3 separate regions of the Homo sapiens genome follow, and all the other regions are linked to region 2. The links are contacts of gene promoters, found by promoter capture Hi-C in blood cells and fetal thymus (Javierre and others, 2016). All regions are on one chromosome and are shown on one strand. The core of a region is centred on a gene start or on the middle of the fragment in contact, and the rest is flanking DNA. Distances in the headings are between cores, read along the strand shown. Region 1 holds the start of TMX1 (thioredoxin related transmembrane protein 1). Region 2 holds the start of PSMC6 (proteasome 26S subunit, ATPase 6). Region 3 holds the start of CDKN3 (cyclin dependent kinase inhibitor 3).

Evidence for each region. The method cuts DNA at HindIII sites, captures the fragments that hold promoters and counts their contacts. A CHiCAGO score of 5 or more calls a contact.
Region 1: a contact is called between a fragment that was not itself captured here and the fragment with the promoter of PSMC6 in region 2, in 1 of 17 cell types (fetal thymus). The highest score is 6.1, in fetal thymus.
Region 3: a contact is called between the fragment with the promoter of CDKN3 here and the fragment with the promoter of PSMC6 in region 2, in 1 of 17 cell types (neutrophils). The highest score is 5.7, in neutrophils.

Annotation. Positions count from the first base shown.
Region 1 is chr14:51,240,040-51,243,599 of GRCh38, reverse strand. It overlaps TMX1 (thioredoxin related transmembrane protein 1), which reads right to left and starts at 3,353. Exons shown (of 8, transcript NM_030755.5): 1 at 3,156-3,353. The coding sequence starts at 3,307. RefSeq lists an enhancer at 3,075-3,314 and a silencer at 3,175-3,517. The HindIII fragment of the contact is 1,305 bases long and covers 1,366-2,670 here.
Region 2 is chr14:52,705,887-52,709,510 of GRCh38, reverse strand. PSMC6 (proteasome 26S subunit, ATPase 6) reads right to left here and starts at 2,311. Exons shown (of 14, transcript NM_002806.5): 1 at 2,207-2,311; 2 at 1,123-1,202; 3 at 989-1,028; 4 at 695-747. The coding sequence starts at 2,291. RefSeq lists enhancers at 1,951-2,000, 2,021-2,270, 2,571-2,630, 2,651-2,760. The HindIII fragment of the contact is 4,351 bases long and covers 1-3,012 here.
Region 3 is chr14:54,395,237-54,398,487 of GRCh38, reverse strand. It overlaps CDKN3 (cyclin dependent kinase inhibitor 3), which reads right to left and starts at 1,481. Exons shown (of 8, transcript NM_005192.4): 1 at 1,411-1,481. The coding sequence starts at 1,419. The HindIII fragment of the contact is 7,211 bases long and covers 1-1,792 here.

The DNA.
Region 1 (3,560 bases), core at 769-3,268, 1.5 Mb after region 2:
ACAGCTCTTTAGAAAACTTTTGCATTTCTCTATTAACGGTGTGGCCACCAGAAAGCTCAAGACCAAAGTTAGAGCTTACCAATTTTAATAATTTATAATGCAGAGTCACAAATGCAAGGTGTTGGAAAAACAGAAGTGTCCTGGGCTGTGGTGAATAAGAAAGCACATATTCCATCTTAAAGTGGCAACCATTATTAAGTAGGATTGCCACTAAGGATGCTGGCACACTAAGGCTGGCTATTCATATTTAAAAGAAGATGGAGAGCTGCATTTTTATATGAGAATGTTACCTCAAAAAATAACCCACACACAAATACTAAGCAGGCCAAACAAAACTCTTGGCCAGTTAGGTCATCCTGTTTCCAAGACCTTGGATTTACAAATGCAAGCATATTAGCATTTAAATTACTCCTCTGGTATTATCTCCTGAGGATCTTATTTTTCCACTTTATTGTATTTTATCTTATAATACACCACAGGGTTGTTCTTTTTTTTTTTTTTTTTTTAACAGAACCAGGAAGAATAAAGCCTAAAGCAGTTAAACACAAAACTATACTTTCTGTACTTCACATTTTCTTCACTTGTTTTATGAAAACCAAACTCCTAAAATAGACATTGTAGAACAAGACAAACTGGTAGTATAAAAGCCAAGCTCCTAACAATAAATCGTATTACAATGAAAATATCTCCATGACAAAACTTCTGAGCAGAAATGGATTTACTGTAGATAATTCACTTGTAATTAGGAGCAGACTATTACTAAAACTACTAGAGTCCTTCTTTTTCAGGTTCGTTTTGTTGCTCAGTTGCTTTTTTATTTTTTGAAACAGGGTCTCGCTTTGTTACCCAGGCTGGAGGGCAGTGGCGCCATCTGGGCTCACTGCAACCTCAACCTCCCGGGCTCAAGACATCCTCCCACCTCAGCCCAAGTAGCTGGGACTACAGATGCCTGCCCACACGCCCAGCTAATTTTTCGTATTTTTTTGTAGAGACTGGTTTTTGCCATGTTGCCCAGGCTGTCAGTTGCTTTCTAAAAACTTACTTTAGAATCTCTACTTAAGGAAAAAGAAAAACTACTACTCTATAGCATAATTTCAGATAGATGCTCCAATGTGGATTTACCTCATACTCAATGTTTTGTTAGTCTTGTTCTCCTTAATACTACTTCTGATTGCTGTATTTATATAGTTGGACCATAATGAGTTAAAAAATATCCTTGAGTAATACTTGACTGTATTTTGCATATACACACACGATCACTATTGCTTAATATATTGCTTATAACACTATTTTACAGGCACGATCTAAAACAAGTTACTCATGATGATGACTGAAAAAGTGTCACAGTTCCTCTCCCCTGAAGCTTTCAATGGTGCCTGAATGAAAATTCATTTCAGAATTGCAGACTACATGCATACTATGAAAATTTCCCTTTATCTTACCCTCCATATAAATGTTCTACTTTTTTTTTGAGATTGAGTCTCACTCTGTCGCCCAGGCTGGAGTGCAGTGGTGCGACCTCGGCTCACTGCAACCTCTGACTCCCAGATTCAAGCGATTCTTCTGCCTCAGCCTCCCGAGTAGCTGGGACTACAGGCGCGTGCCACCACGCCCAGGTAATTTTTTGTATTTTTAGTACAAACGGCGTTTCACCGTGTTAGCCAGGATGGTCTCGATCTCCTCACCTCGTGATCCACCGGCCTCGGCCTCCCAAAGTGCTGGGATTACAGGCGTGAGCCACCGCGCCGGCCAGTTTTGTTTTTTTAAAAAATAACACAGGACTTACTGATTTAGCCTTCTGGGTTCTCCCTTGGGGATGTCACTTTCACTGGCCTCCTTAACTTGACAACCCTTGCTGTATTCGTGACACAAGAAAACACTCACCTGAACCCTGTTGTCTTTTCATTTTTATTTATTTACTTATTTATTTTGCTAGTTGCCCAGGATCTCTTGAACCCCTGGGCTCAAGTCATCCTCATACCTCAATCTCCTGGGTAGCGTACGCCACTTCCAGCTGAACCTTTTTAAAGAAGAAGGTGTTCTAACAACAATTATTGTATGCCTACTCTGAAGACCCAAAGAAAGCCAGCACAGCAATATCTGCATAGGTTAACTAAAGTATTTAGGTATCTTGTTACTCATTTGTAAAACGTGAAAAACACCTGTCATAGAGAATTTGTAGGGAATTAAATATGGTATTCGTGTAAAGGTGCTTAGTGGTGTCCAGTACACTGTTAATAATTATGCTTTTACTATTATCAGTAAATACTGCTAATATGTATAATACCACCATCAACAACGACTTAGCATCTAAAGCAAAGACAGATACTTTATTTCCCACCGCGGCAGAACAGATATTATTAAATTGAAATCACCACACAAAATACATGATTTCGTTCGAGCAATAAATGATGACCTGGCGCTCTTGAGAGTGTATACATTAATACATTATCTTTTAATGTAATACCATTTACAAAGACCTAGGAGTCACAACCCAAGGTATTCTCTACACTACAAAGACACCCAAAGGAAAAATGAGATGAGGAGTGAAAAAAAGAGAAAGCAAAAGAGGAGGCAAAAAGAGAAAACGAAAACTTAAAAATAACCCAACTTGAATTGACTCAGTATTTACAATAAAAAAGAAACGTACCCAATCCATTAAAAAAAGCTTAAAAGCGCCAAATTCCAACACCATAAAGAGACTATCTTTTAAGGACAGACAAAACGAGAGGAGAAATTTTGCTCAATATTCTCTTATGTAAAATGTGGTGAAAATAAGTGTAGAAGTCTGTGAAGAATCACTTTAACTACTTAGACACGAGTCGGACACCTCCCTCCCCGCGCCCCAGTCGCATCCTCAAAGTCATGAAAAATGTCAGAATTCGCATTGGCACTAACCCTTTGGGCGCACCACAACCCAAGAAACGAAACGAGGGTGCACCCCAGAAGAAACTTAACATTCACGGGTAAGAGACGAGGGGGTGGGACCAAGCTGGCGGCAGATCCCAAGAGTTTGGGGAGCTGCAGAAGTCGGGGACGCTCGCTCCGCAACTCGGAGGCGCAGTCCTGGGGAGCCTGCGACCCGCACGAGGAACGTGCGGGGTGAAGTCGTGTGTCCAGGCACGGACGTAGGACCCTGGCCGCCCCGCACTCACAATTCTATCATCCAGTCTCCTTCCAGCAGTTCTCTCCAGTTCTCGTCCGTGATGACGCGAACGTTGCTCCGCCGCCCGTGCGTCCAGGGAGCACCCCAAAGCAACAGCACCAGGACTGCCAGGGGAACTGCAAGACTCCCGGAGGGCGCCATTTCGCCGCTTGCCCACCTCACAGGGAGCGCGGTCGCAGCTCCCACTTCCGCCCTCGCGGGCTGCTCAGCGCAAGCGCACTACGGTGCTGCGAGGAGCGCCTGTCTAGAGGACTCTCAATGCGCATGACAGGGGTCTGATCCCAGTGAGTGGTGAAGTCGGGAAAGAGGGAAGAACGACTCTCCGCAATGCGCATGACAGAAAAGCGGCTGCTTCTACCGCCTAGGGTGTCCCAATATTGTGGGGGAAGGAACA
Region 2 (3,624 bases), core at 1,062-3,561:
ACCGCTTATATACTAGGCAAAATCCTAATAGGAGATTTATAGTTCCTGGATTAAATTCTCCCTTACAGCCATGTTCTGTGAATGTTTTAAAACCTGAACCTGAAATGACAATTAAACAGAGAAAACTCTTCCAATGAATTTAAAAGAATTATCTAAGGACACTTCCTAAAGAATAATACATAAATTGATTTCAGACACTACTGAATGACTTGAGGTCATTTGTTGGCATCTTTGATAACTGTAAAATAAAATTTAGAATTATTTCAACTTGCCCTACCCTAATCTAAATGACCTCATACAAAATTAACTTAGGCCATGGTACAGTCCATAAGTAACAGTTCTGAATGTCTAAATATAAACACAGGTAACTGATGATATCTAACACTTTTAAGTCCTCTTTAAAAATGACATTAAAATAAAATGTCTGTTTTCCAGTTCTAAAATACTTTTATTTCTAAGTGGCTATTAACAGATCTGACTGAGACAATGTAATACAGTAGAAAGTACGGAATGCCAGGAGTCAAAGCCCATGGTTTGAATTCAGGCTTTGTTAATAACTAGCTATGTCTGAACAAATCATCCTTGTGAGTTATGGGCATAAATGCTCCACCTGCTTGCCTCAAGAATTAGAGACAATAACTTACATGAAACTGCTTTGTCAATCATCAGGCACTATACAAATATAAAGTATTACCTGTCGACGACAACCCACAACATATCTTGGTCCATTGGTAGCTTTAACAATGACTAGAAGAAAAAACATAAAAGAACTAATTGAAAAATAGAAAGTAAAAAAATACATACCCACGTTGACAGAGGGTTTAGTTGTATTTCTGTCCTCCAAGGAGACATTAGTTGAAGGAAAACTTAAGTCTATTCAAAAATACTCTCTCTCTCTGCATTATTGTCATTAAAATAATAAGCATTTCAAAAGTGAGAGAGAGGTGGACTGTTTCTTTACTAATTAATAAGCTAATTCATCACTCACATTTTTCTTCAGTTAACTGTTTAAGCACTTCACCCACGATCTAAGGAAGAAAATAAAAAGCATTACTTTTTGGCAACAGCTAAATAAAAAAGCAAATTACCATCACCCCCTATTCCCCAAACTCCATCACCTACCTGCCCAACACTCTGTAGGGCCTTCAGATCATTTTCAGACTTTTCATACTGCTTGGTAAGTTCTTTTAATTGTTCCCTTACTGAAATAATACAATTTGAACATTTTTAATTGAACAGTAATCTTAGTGTGTTTAAGTCGCTACGTCTCACTTTACTGTTTACGTAAGTCTACTTCACTTTACCTAAGTTTCACATCCACTGTTTCAAACCATAAAAGAAATAATGCTGTTTGTAATGAGTAGGTGGCATGTATAACAACAAAATGTTACAGAGAAAGCACCATACTTTTACTTTGTTGATCGGCAATACTTGTTTAAGCACATCTTAAGTTATAGTCTTAGAAGATATTGACACCCTGACACTTAGGATTTGCGACTACAAATCCGAATGATAATCACTTAGACCCTTCCTCACCTCTTCACCTACCCACGTGGATTGTTCTCTGACATTCTACCCTAAATAAAGTCAACAAATGCAGTTCTCCACAGAATCATGTAATTATGGTCCTCCATTTAATTAAACTACTCATGCTTTTCAATGAAAATGCACTGGAAAAAAAAGTTAAGCACTCAGGAGGTAAGGGAAATTTGTATGCCTGATACAGTACAACACGAAACACAAGACGATATGGGTTATTATGACAACTGGAACACTTCTCTCTTAAGCTCCGCGGCCGTCTTTCGACTCCAAGAACAAGCCGACTCCCTGAGTCTCATCTCTTGTTTGAGCTTACTTGACTCAAGCGCCTTCCCCTCTCCAAGTCCCGGGACTCCACCAAGACTGCCCTTCTTGCACCCTAACCTGGGAAACATCCTCGGCCCACTTCCCCACTCCTCCTCTACTTCTTTTTCATTTTCACCTCAAGGCCGCCGATGTTCTGTCACCCGGGCTGGACTGGGCCATTTCTACACCCGAAGGAGTGCTGCTCCACAAGCTCAGGGCCGGATGACAAAGCGCCTTGTCCCTGGCCCTAGGCCTGGTCATCTCTAAGGCTCGGTTGCCGGGCTCGGCGAAAGGCTTCTGCTTTGTCAGAGGCAGAAGCGAGTCGAGGCACTTGATTAAATGGAAAGAAAGGTGCACTCACACTCCTTAAGACGGCCGTCGATCTCCTTGTGTTCAAGCAACTTCTTGCGGTAGTCCTGAAGCGCCTTATCTCTAGGGTCCGCCATGATGAGAAGCCGTCTCTCATAGGGGATGCCGGGAATGGCCATGGCCGTCCGGGCGGGGGAAGGGGCGGGGCGAGGGGCGAAACCCTGCCTGGAGGGGTGGGTTCGCCCATGAGCCCTCCCCTTCCGGTTGGCCCCGTCTTTCTACTCCACTTCCACCTCTATGTCTCGGTTCACCTAGAGCGCCGGCATACACTGAAAGAGGCCTCCACCTATACCGTTTCTTGCAAGCCGAGATAGGTAAAGCAGGACTCAGTTATCCCGGTCTTCCCCTGAGAGGCCTCAGTATTAAGTCACTGCTGTCCCGGAAGTATAAAAGGCTCTGTAATAAACTGAGATGGAAGTGAAGTAGGAAATGTGTAATACCTCAAAGGAGTTCCGATGGCCTGTCGACACAACACAGATGGCCTTTGTTATAACACAGTACTGTCCAAGACCTCCACGTGCTGGAGAAGTAGACAGTTTTATTCATCCATTCAGTCAGTGAATGAGGTATTAAAGGTAGATCTGCTTATCATTTGATAGGAAATAATAATAAAAAAAACTTCAGAGTTTAACAAATACTGTGAAGGAATTAAAACACGGTGAGAAGTATGGTGGGAAGAATTAATCTAGAACAGATATCTGAGATGAGAAGGAGCCAGCCTTGCAACAACTGAAGAAAACCTAAACAAACAGTGCAAGTCCTGGAGTGGAGTGGGGTGGGGGTTGTGGGTAGAAAGCTTGACTCACTTCCAGGAACAGAAAGGAGGCCAATGAGACCAGTAGGGGGTGGGTTGTAGAGATGTGGGGTACAAGATAAAGATGCTGAAGTAGGCTGAGGCAGGAACTTTGAAGTCTGATAGAACCTTCAGATTTATGTATTTATTTATTTACTTTTGAGATGGAGTCTTGCTCCTGCCGCACAGGCTGGAGCGGTGACGCGATCTCAGCTCACTGCAACCTCCACCTCCCGGGTTCAAGCAATTCTCCTTCCTCAGCCTCCGGAGTAGCTGGCATTACAGGTGTGCGCCACCACAACCGGCTAATTTTTGTATTTTTAGTAGAGACGGGGTTTCGCCATGTTGGCCATGCTGGTCTCGAACTGCTGACTTCAGGTGATCCACCCTCCTCAGCCTCCCAAAGTGCTAGGATTACAGGTGTGAGGCACTGCGCCCGGCCAGATTTTTTTTTTTTTTTTTTTTTTTTTGAGTCTGTGTCTCACTCTGTCACCCAGGCTGCAGTGTAGTGGTGCGATCTTGGCTCACTGCAACCTCTGCCTCCCGGGTTCAAGCGATTGTCGTGCCTCACCCTCCTGAGAAGCTGGGATTACAGGCGCCCGCCACCACGCCCGGCT
Region 3 (3,251 bases), core at 232-2,731, 1.7 Mb before region 2:
AGTCACAGGTGGCCATGGACAGTCTGGGGCTCCTGTGTGCCAGAGAGTGGACCAGAAAGCACCTTCTGCAGGCAGGCAGGTAGATCCCAAGAAAGAAGGAAAGAAAAAGTTGAGATACTGGTGTTCAGTTCCTTCCAAACTCGGGGATCAGATAACTCAATGGGGACAGGTGGAGAAAGAGGCCAGGAGTGAAGGACAGCTGATGTCCCTCCACATGGCAACATAGGGATTAGCAATTGTAAGCACCTAATGCTCTTTCTAGCTCTGAAGCTATATTCTACAACGGTCTTGGTACTAGAAGATCACAGGACGGCTAATTTAGGCTACGGACTTTTTTTTCTTTCTTTCTTTTATCTTGAGATAGGGTTTTGCTCTGTCGCCCAGGCTGGAGGGCAGTGGCGTGATATCCGCTCACTGCAACCTCTGCCTCTTGGGTTCAAGCTATTTGCGTGGCTCAGCCTCCCGAGTAGCTGGGACTACAGGCGTGCACTACCACGCTCAGCTAATGTTTGTATTTTTAGTAGAGACGGGGTTTCACCGTGTTGGCTAGGCTTGTCTCCAACTCCTGGCCTCAAGTGATCCGCCCGCCTTGGCCTCCCAAAGTGTTGGGATTACAGGCGCGAGACACCACCCGGCCCTAGGCTATGGATTTCTGTTGCTTTGGCTCTATCTGAAGTATTATAATCAACTGCACCCAAAGGAAAGGCTTCCAGTAGGTTGTCAAGCCGGGCAGTAGGAAATATGGGTTAGGTGGGGGATCTTCAGCTCCTTGCCTGCATCTGTTTTTTCTTTAAAGCAACTTTGATGATTCATATTTCAAATTTGTGTGGCCCATTCACCAGGTTTATTAATCCTAACAGAGCTGGACGTTTCTGCTTCCCCAGGCCCTGTGATTCTGAACGTCACGGGAAAAGAGCAGCATTGCCAGGTGGCCCTGGGGCATGGTGACAGCGGTGGTGTCGCCCACAAGCCGCGGCGTGGCATTCGTACTCAAGGTTTCCCCAGGCCCTGTGGGCGCAGGTAGCGCCCGGCCACCCTTCGGGGCTGGGGTATCGCGCCCACTCATCGCTGACACTCAAGCTCTTCGGCTCGGTTTCCTCGGTACAACGAGGCTCGGCCCTCTTTGGCTGGGCGGCTGGGAGGCTTATGAGACCCCGCAGGGGACAGGTGACAGCCCACAGCAGGTGCACAGCGAATGTCCGTCTTTCCTTCGTCGGCCACCGACCCTGCTCCTTCGTCTCTCGTGCCCGTGCTGGGCCCGTGCGAGTCACCTCCCCGACCCGCAGAACGGTTACGGCGCCAGTCGCACTGCTACCAGGCTAGGGCTGCCCTCCGGCCCAGGATCGGGTCCCCGGGACCGCTTGCGTCCCTGCCGCCTCGCTCCTCCAAACCCCAGCACGTCCGACTCACCGGCTTCATCGCTGGCCGCCCCACGTCGAGACCAGTGCCGCCTCCCTCTGCAGCGCCGGCGACTCACCGGTGCCCCGGCCGAGCCCGCGCCCCGCAGCTTAGCTCACTGGTTCGTCCTTCTGTGAGGTGGGCGCGGCGTCTTCCAGCAACCAATCAGATCCGCTTCTGGTTTCTTACTCCGCCTTTGGGTGGCCGAAGACTCGGCCTCTAATCGCTGACTGGTTCCTAGAAGACCTTTGAAAGACGCGCGGGAGGCGGGCCCTGTGGGACGTTGATTGGCTGGGAGGGCGCCCTCCTCCCGCCAGTTGGGAGAGTGCAGGGGGCGGAGGCGGGGCGGAAGAGTCAGAAGGCGGCCCTAGCGCTTGGGGGACGCTGGAAAGCTTTGCTTCTTGATGGCAGGATGTCAGCGTGGTCCATACGGTTGGGAGGTGATTTTTTTTTTTTTCTTGAGACGGAGTTCGCTCTTGTTGCCCAGGCTGGAGTGCAATGGCGCGATCTCGGCTCACCGCCACCTCCGCCTCCCGGATTCAAGCGAGTCTCCGCCTCACCCTCCCGAGTAGCTGGGATTACAAGGATGTGCCACCAAGCCTGACTAATTTTTGTATTTTTTGTAGAGACGGGGTTTCTCCATGTTGGTCAGGCTGGTCTCGAACCCGGGTTGGGAGTTTTTGTGTTTGTGACGGAAGTCTTACTATGTTGCCCAGGCTGGCCTCGAACTCCTGTCCTCAAGCAATCCTCCCGCCTTAGCCTCCCTTGTAGCGGCTACGGTAGGGAGTTTTTGTTTCTTTAAGTTGTATTTTTATTTTTTATTTTTTAAGGGCTCAGGGAAGCACTGTATTGGATCGTCACATGAAAAACATCACATAGACTTTGTAATTATATCTAGACATACAAATACTAGGGAAAAAACTAAAAATTTAGAGTATAAACATATTTTATATGCTTGAAGTTTTAGTTTATCGTTCCAGAAACTAGACAAGTTACAGTGTAGATCAATATTCCTGTCCCCCAAATATGAATTAAATTATATTGTGTGAAAGGGAAATTATAAAATGCCAGGTAAGATAGGTCTAAGGGCCAGTGTGTCTACATAATTAGCTGTAATCTTTTAAAAATGTGAGTATTTCTCCGCCTTCTCCAGTCCCCATTTAACTAGCCATGGGAAAGGAAGTCGCCTGGAGCAGATCTGAGAAAAATATGCAGAAATTTCAACCCCTGATTCATGTTGTGAAAGCCAATGGGTATAGAGCTATTAGAAGGAATTCCTTAGTAAAGAAGGTACCACAGTTTGATTTAGAGACTGTATTAGCTAGTCATGGTTGCCCAGAGATAAAGAATGAATAGGATGTGTATATATGGATATAGAAACAGATTTATTTTAAGGAATTGGCTCCTGTGCTTGTGGAAGCTTGGAGAGTCCAAAATCTGATGGGGGGAGGCCAGTGCGCTGGAGACTCAGGAAAGGCTGTACTTCGAGTCCAAAAGCTGTTGTAGAACAAAGAAGAGCCAATATTGCATGTAAAGTCTGAAGGCTGTCTACTGGCAGAATTACCCCTTGCACAGGGCAGGGTCAGCCTTTTGTTGTATTCAGCTCGTCAACTGATTGGATGAGGCCCATCCATATTATGGATGGCAGTCTGCTTTACTCAACGTTTCCCAATTTAATGCAAATCTCATCCAAAAACACTTTCACAGAAACATCCAGAATAATGTTTGTCCAAATAACTGGGCACCATGGCCCAGTCAAGCTGATGCACAAAATTAACCATCCTAGACACCCACAGAGATTTTCCATACTCGGGAAATCCTTTTAGATCTGTGCTGTTCAATATGGTGACCAT